Regions from separate parts of the Homo sapiens genome. Here region 2 is linked to region 1. The links are contacts of gene promoters, found by promoter capture Hi-C in human tissues and cell types (Jung and others, 2019). All regions are on one chromosome and are shown on one strand. Each heading gives the region's core, a stretch centred on a gene start or on the middle of the fragment in contact. The rest is flanking DNA. Distances are from core to core; before and after follow the strand shown. Region 1 holds the start of USP31 (ubiquitin specific peptidase 31). Region 2 has its middle 16 kb from the start of MIR3680-1.

What was found. Contacts are between HindIII fragments. The study calls those that stand out against the background at their distance.
Region 2: a fragment that was not itself captured here is called in contact with the fragment with the promoter of USP31 in region 1 in 1 of the 25 tissues and cell types used here (dorsolateral prefrontal cortex).

The regions. Positions count from the first base shown.
Region 1 is chr16:23,147,527-23,151,445 of GRCh38, reverse strand. USP31 (ubiquitin specific peptidase 31) reads left to right here and starts at 1,994. Exons shown (of 16, transcript NM_020718.4): 1 at 1,994-2,808. The coding sequence starts at 2,176. RefSeq lists an enhancer at 1,594-1,813 and silencers at 1,994-2,093, 2,244-2,293, 2,394-2,493, 2,624-2,853. The HindIII fragment of the contact is 9,135 bases long and covers 1-3,919 here.
Region 2 is chr16:21,520,201-21,524,119 of GRCh38, reverse strand. It overlaps the pseudogene SLC7A5P2. Among named protein-coding and RNA genes, the nearest start is that of MIR3680-1, 16 kb to the right of the region's middle. RefSeq lists enhancers at 1-379, 1,847-2,581, 2,582-3,314, 3,315-3,919 and a silencer at 3,295-3,919. The HindIII fragment of the contact is 7,216 bases long and covers 1-3,919 here.

The sequences.
Region 1 (3,919 bases), core at 745-3,244:
TGAGCTGAGATCCCGCCACTGCACTCCAGCCTGGTTGTTAGAGTGAGACTCCATCACACACACATACACACACACACACACACACACACACACACACACACACACGACATTGTTTAGGTATAAAGTTGCCAAATAATCAACCTGTTATATAATGGCTACCTTACTGGGTACCGAATAATGAGTAAGATGGGTCTCTACTGGGTTGAAGCCCACATATTAGTGAAGGTGATGATTGTAAACTGAATTGCAATATGGTCAAGTCAGTGTCATGAATGAGAGGTGCCAAGAGGGCCTGTGGAAGGGACATCTCCTGGAGGGGGTGATATCTAAGGTGGGACTTTAAGGATGAGGGGAAGTTAGCTAAGTAGAAAGGTTCTAAGTTAGCTAAGGAAAGGTTCAAGGGAGAGGGAACGGCTCCAGCAAAGGCCCTCGAGTCTAGATCAAACTGCCCAGAAGTTGAGGGCCATTGCATTCACATTTTAGTGTGAATAATCAGATGGCTTTCTTCCTGGTGTCCAGATAAGAATTTTGACTAAGAGGAGAGTGGAGCCGATTAGGGACAGTGCAGAGCACCCTGGAGATGTCATCATAGAGCCCTACTTACATTGGGGAGGGAGGTCAAAGGTAAAAACCATTTACTTTGAAACGTGGTGTAAGGTGGCCTTCATGTTTTAAAAAGGAGGAAGGGCTCTCCCTTCTCTGATTTCTCTCTTCTGCCTCAGGACTCAGACTAGCCCTTTTAGCAGAGGGGAGCCTATAGAGAGGAGGTCATATACTAGTTGATTTTGGACTAAAGGCATCCCAAAGATGTACTATTTTTTGCTCCCTGCACTATTTTTTTTTTAATGGAACCAACGTTTAAAAATAGGATTTCTGCCTTCTCTTAAAACATCAGATGATCTGGTAACGCTGAGCTCCTGTTCTCACATGGGAACAACTGGCTGGAGCTGAGTGGCAGCCACCTCTTTAGAAAGATGTTAATTTGAAGTCTGCTATAGTCCCCATCATTCCTTATATTTCCCCCAACACTGAGACCCAAGTCACTTGAAAGTCAATATGATGATTCAAACACCAGGATTCTTCACTCATTTGTGGGTTTGTGACCTGTGATATTTGTGGATTCGTGACCTTTGGTTTAGAGGTCAAGTATAGGGGTTGTAAATAAAACTTGGGTTTGAATCAGATAAGAACTGTACCAATCTCAAAGACGGTGAATTAAAGATTAAAGAAAATATTGCATGCTTGGCATAATGTGTGGAACACAACAGCTATTGTAAACACCCAGTAGGAATGTAAGCTGCAAGAGGGCAGGTAGAAACCGTGCTAATTTAATCCGCTGGGGATATGACATTTGATTCTAATTTAATAGGTTTAATTCTTTGCAATATCCCCAGTAACTGCTGAATGAATGAGTGAGTGAATGAATGAATGGAATGATGAATGATGGGAGAGCCCGGAGGAGTTTTAAAGGCTGGAATGAAAAGGAAAGTAGTTATGATAACAGCGTTTCGCTGGGACTCCAAGGTGCAGCCAGGAAGAAAAGCCCGCTGGGACGTGCCAGGGTCTGTGACTGCGCTCCGCTGGCACCCAGAGGGTAGGTATCTGCAACGTCCCTTGGGAGCCAGACAGGGCTGACTTGCCCAGGACCTGTCAGGGCCATGTCCACCAGCTCTTGCACGGTCTGGTAACTGACAGCATCCTGATTCCTGCACGTTCCCGCCTCTGCCATCTGACCAGCAAAGACAGAGACCCACCCCGGGGATCCACCATCCAACGGGAGCCCAGCCTTTTCCTCCAAGCCGGGACGGCGCCCACACTAGACATGGCCTCCCTCGGGCTTCACGCAGCAGGACCGCGCCCGCAGCCTCCAGGCATCGCGTCCGGCTGGAGAGGCAGCTACCGTCCCACAGTGAACATGGCGGCCGAGGCGGCTTCAGCGCCGGGCGGGCGGCGCCGGGAGGCACGTCACGTGAGCGGCTCAGCTGGGCGGACCGCGCGCGCGCCCGCTGGCCCCGCCGGCCGCCGCTCGCTCGCTGGCTCGGCTGCGCTTTGAGGTGTGTGGGGCGTCGAGCCCCCGGGCCCGGTGAGGCGCGGCGCTGCGGGATGCGGCGGCGGCCGTGGCGGGGCCGCGGGCCGGGCGGGCGGGCGCGGTGATGAGTGTCTGCGGCCGCCGCCATGTCCAAGGTAACGGCGCCTGGGTCCGGGCCGCCGGCGGCGGCGAGCGGGAAGGAGAAGCGCTCCTTCAGCAAGCGGCTGTTTCGGAGCGGCCGCGCTGGCGGCGGCGGCGCGGGGGGCCCCGGGGCGTCCGGGCCGGCCGCGCCTTCCTCGCCCTCCTCGCCCTCCTCTGCACGCTCGGTGGGCAGCTTCATGAGCCGCGTTCTCAAGACGCTGTCCACGCTCTCGCACCTTAGCTCTGAGGGCGCCGCCCCAGACCGCGGCGGCCTCCGCAGCTGCTTCCCGCCCGGGCCGGCCGCCGCGCCCACGCCGCCGCCGTGCCCGCCGCCGCCCGCCTCTCCCGCGCCGCCCGCTTGCGCCGCCGAGCCGGTGCCCGGCGTGGCGGGGCTCCGCAACCACGGCAACACGTGCTTCATGAACGCCACGCTGCAGTGCCTCAGCAACACCGAGCTCTTCGCCGAGTACCTGGCGCTGGGCCAGTACCGGGCGGGGCGGCCCGAGCCCTCGCCTGACCCGGAGCAGCCTGCGGGCCGCGGCGCGCAGGGCCAGGGCGAGGTCACTGAGCAGCTGGCGCACCTGGTGCGGGCCCTCTGGACCCTGGAGTACACCCCGCAGCACAGCCGCGACTTCAAGGTGAGCCCGCGCGCCGCCGCGCCCCCACTGCACCCCGAGCCCCTGGGGCACCTGCCCGCCCAGGTCTTCCTTCCCTCGGTTCCTCTTGGCCCGGCAGGCTTCTGCATTGGTTGCTCCGAGTGGTCTGGGCAGTCGACCAGTGATTTTAAGGAGATTCATTCATTCATTCATTTATTCACTCACTCACTCACTCAAACATGTATTTATTGAGAACTTACTACATACGTGCCCATACTCTGTGATAATAGGCAATGGGAGTGACGTTGCAATGAACAAGACTATCCGCCTTCATGGAACTTGCATTTTTGTGGGGTGGGAGTGTTGAGCATGGGTTCAAATCCTGGTTCTGCCACTTACTAGCAATGTGACGTCGGGTAAGTTAAGCAGCCTCTCTGTTCTTACAGTTTCTTCATCTGGGGGACCTACTTTGTAAGGTGGTTGTGAGCTGCAAACAAGTTAATATATTAAATCGAACACTGTGGAATTACCCATATTTAACCGTTTTTTATTTACAGATTGGCACTTTTATAGGGTTCAACCTGATAAGTAAAATACTTCCATATCATGTGTATTTGCTGCTATTATTTTTGTTATTAAAGACTTGAAGAAGTTAACGAGATAATATCAGATAGTGGTTTGAAGAAAGAAAAACCTGCTGCTGTGATTGATGTGCTGACAGGCTACTTTTTATTTTTATTTTATTTTTAGAGACAGGGTCTTGCTCTGTTGCCCAGGCTGGAGTGCAGTGCTCACATAGCCTCAAACTCCTGGGCTCAAGCAATCCTCCCGCCTCACCTTCCAGAGTATTTAATAGCTGGGACTACAGACACACACCACCATACCTACCTATTTTTTATTTTTAAAACACTTTTGTAGAGACGGGGGTTTTGCTGTGTTGCCCAGACTGGTCTTGAACTCTTGTCCTCAAGCCACTCTCCCCGCTTTGGCCTCCCAAAGTGCTGGGATTACAGGGGTGAGCTATACATCCCTGGGGGTATGTATGGCCCTTGGCCAAGCCCTCCTTTGCTGTTTGCTGGTGGGGCTGCAAGTGTAGTGAGAGGGTGAGATTTGAGAGCCGAGTGGTGGGCTGGGACCGGATGGTATGGGACCA
Region 2 (3,919 bases), core at 774-3,273, 1.6 Mb after region 1:
AAAAAAAGATCTGTCTCTGCCATCCTGAAGGTAAGTTTGCCACCTACGCACTAAAGATTAAGGCCATATTTTTTCAATGTTGAGATTATTCCCTTTGTCTGCAAACAGGGGCTTAGGACAACAGCCCTTTCTTCTCTCACAGTCCCGGAGGCCAGAGGCCAACATCAAGGTGGTGGCAGGGCCAGACTCCCTCGGGGGCTCCAGGACCCCTCCTGCCTCTTCCAGCTTCTGGGGGCTCCAGGTGTCCCTTGACTCAGAGCCGCCCACTCCCATCCCCGCCTCCATCTTCACGCTCCAGCCACTGAGACCATGCCCGACACAGCAAGTGTGGGCTGCTGCAACTGCTGTCCCTCCGTGTTCCCTCTGCACACATTGGAAAGAAAGTCTGAGGGTGGAAGCCAGGCATTCGGCCAGCCCTGGGAGCACAGTTCGGCAGTGACGGCAACACCAGCAGCTCAGGGTCCTCCACCCGCCAGCCCCGGGAGCACAGTTCTGCAGTGAGGATGACACCAGAGGCTCAGGGTCCTCCACCTGCCAGCCCTGGGAGCACAGTTCTGCAGTGATGGCAATGCCAGCGGCTCAGGGTCTTCTACCTGCTGGTCCCCAGGAGGCGGGCGCAGGTGTCTCCCTGCTTCACAGAAGAGGAAACTGAGACTTTGAAAGCTGAGCCGAGTCACTCGCCTGGTGCCACATTAACCAGCAAGTGGTAGAGGTGAGATCTGAACCCAGGACCGTTCGATTCTAGGCCTGAACTGCTTTTATCTTTTGGATGTATAGTTCACACATAACATAACATTAACCGTTAGTCATTTAAACACGTACAAATCCGTGGTGTTTAAGTCACTCCCAGTGTTGGGCAACCATCCCCATCATCTAGTTCCAAGACATTTTATCACCCCAAAGAGAGACCCCATCCACTCAGCCCTCACTCTCCATCGCCCCTTCCCCCCGCCCTAAGCAGCCACGAATCTCGTCCGTCTCTCTGGATCCTCCTGTCCTGAACATTCGTGCACTCGGAATCATACAACCCGTGGTCACTGACCCTTTCACGCAGCCCAGTGTTTTCAGGGGTCCTGCACATTGCAGCGCGTCTTCCTGTGTGCAGCTGAATGACTCTCCAAGGGATGGCGGACTACGCTGGGTTTATCCATCATCCACGGATGGACGGGCCTGAACTCTGACCCCGGCTCCTACTGTTGCTTCCATGTCATCTTTTTTTTTTTTTTCAAGACCAGTCTCGCCGGGCGCAGTGGCTCACGCCTGTAATCCCAGCACTTTGGGAGGCCGAGGCGGGGGGATCACAAGGTCAGGAGATCAAGACCATCCTGGCTAACACCGTGAAACCCCGTCTCTGCTAAAAATACAAAAAATTAGCCGGGCATGGTGGTGAGCGCCTGTAGTCCCAGCTACTTGGGAGGCTGAGGCAGGAGAATGGTGTGAACCCAGGAGGCGGAGCTTGCAGTAAGCCGAGATCGCGCCACTGCACTCCAGCCTGGGTAACAGAGCGAGACTCCGTCTCAAAAAAAAAAAAAAAAAAAAAAAAAAAAGACCGGTCTCATTCTGTCGCCTAGGCTGGAGTGCAGTGGCGTGATCTCAGCTCACTGCAGCCTCAACCTTCCCCAGCTCAGGTGATCCTTCTACCTCAGCCTCCCCAGCAGCTGGGACTACAGGTGCACCACCACCACGCTGGGCTAGTTTTTGTATTTTTTGTAGAGACGGGGTCTCCCTATGTTGCCCAGGCTGGTCTTGAACTCCTGGGCTCAAGAGATTTTCCCACCTTGGTCTCCCAAAGGGCTGGCATTACAGGCGTGAGCCACCGCGCCCAGCCTCCAAGTCATCTTTCACACGCAGAGCACGCCTGAGAGCAGCAACAAGACTAACGTTGGGGCCAAAGCTAAGAAGTGGGGCGGAGCCTCCCTGGTGGCCGGTCGTCAGCCCAGTGCCTGAAATGCATGCAAAGTCTATTTTTATTTTGCGTAGTTGAACCTAAGCAAAAAATCTGGCCCTATAATCTCTAACCTTGCTCCTAACTGGCACCTACCCTATTGCACAAGAAGCTATCTAGGGGAGGACTCAGTGAGCACTCGGTGAGTTTGTCCAGCCATGGTGGTACTGTCTCCTTCCCTCTGCAGGCACAGCGGGAAGAATAGGGTGGATGGAGGGCTCTCTGCACCTTCCACAGCCCGCAGCGTGGACGGCAGATTACAAGTTAGTATCTGTGCGACCTCCGCACTCCCCTGCCGGTGGCTGCCTGGGCTGCTGAGATTTCGCTTGGTTTTATCACTGCAGAGGAATGCCTGCCATACCGGGGGGCGAGCAAGGTCCAGAATGACAAGCCGTGGCATTCCTCAGCCGCCTCCTCCCCGGGGTGGGGCCTGGACATTCCTGGCTGCAGCTAGAGGTCCCAGCACGACAGGGATTCTGACCCCCCCTCCACCACGGCTATTGTTCAGAATTCTGTGGATTCCAGAGGCATCTGCCCAGCAGACTGTCTTGCTGTGAACACCCAGCTCTGCAACCGGTGTTTGCGTGTTTGCCCTGGGAGGCTGAACGCTCACCCAGAACAAAGGCCTCCCCACATGCCTGCTGTGAGCTTCCAAGTACTCGTTAGGACACACGCCAAGGAACCCCGGGTTGGGGGGATACCGAGGAGCTTCCTCCCTGACCCACACACACCCTTTGAACAGGTCTTTGGCTGCTCACCAGTCTGGTCAATCTCGGGGCAGTATTTATATTCCTTCCCGTTTCCAGGCCTAGGAGCCTTGGCATCCTGCTCTCGCCTCTAACTGAAATTACCTCTCAACCCTTTTTAGCTAAGATGCCTCTCGCATTCCCCAGGAATAACAAGCTTTAAAGCCCCTTCACACTGAAGCCTGCCTTTGAATTTCCCAGCTAGATTTGGGGGTGGGGGTCTTATGGCTCCCGGTGAACCCCCGGTTCTGTTGATTAAATTGAGCTCAGGCAGAGTGCTGGCTTCCCAAAGCCTGTGTTATTACTGCTTCTCAAAGCTACGGGCACCGGATCGCCATCTTTGGCAAGATTCTTTTGGGATACAATGGGAATTACTGGGTGGCCTCGGTTCGGTTCTTCCCTCGTCTCAGTTCGCGGCTCACCAGCCACATTGATGCAGCCCCCAGGCTGGAAGGAGGCTGCAGGAGCTTCCCCTCAGGTCATCTTCTCATCCCTCCCCCGTGCCCCAGGAGCTGGTTGTGGGGGCGGTTCCATCCCCTCGGCCCATCCGGGACAGGAGCCTAGGTTCCCTTCGGGGGGTACCCCAAACCCCATCCTTGGCCTCAGGCCAGCCCTGGTGCACTGCCCGCTCCCAGGCTTGACGAGAGGCTGCGGGCCAGTGGGTGAAGGGGCTCGCCCTGACTGCCAGGCCCCGCCCAGGCGCACCCGGGAGGACGGGCTGGGATGACGCGGGCGCCGGGGGGGTAGGTCGCGAGGCCGGGGTCTCCATGGCGCAGGAGTACGGGGGCCTTCGAGGACCACGCGGGCCTGGGAATCGCCTGCCAGGCTAGGCCGGACGACGCACGTGCTCCGAGCTGGGTCGAGGGGGCGGGGCTGAGGGCCGCGGCCGGGCCACGGGTCGGGGAGGAGCCGCGGACGGTGGGCGGGGCCAGTGGGCCGGGGCCTAAAAGGCGGCGCGGGCGGGGTTCCTGACGCAGCTGCGGGCGGCGGGCGGCGAGCGGCGCGCACAATCCTCGCTCGGCTGCGGCTCCCGGGTGTCCCAGGCCCGGCCGGTAAGCAGAGCATGGCGGGTGCGGGCCCGAAGCGGCGCGCGCTAGCGGCCCCGGTGGCCGAGGAGAAGGAAGAGGCGCGGGAGAAGATGATGGCCGCCAAGCGCGCGGACGGCGCGGCGCCGGCAGGCGAGGGCGAGGGCGTGACCCTGCAGGGGAACATCACGCTACTCAAGGGC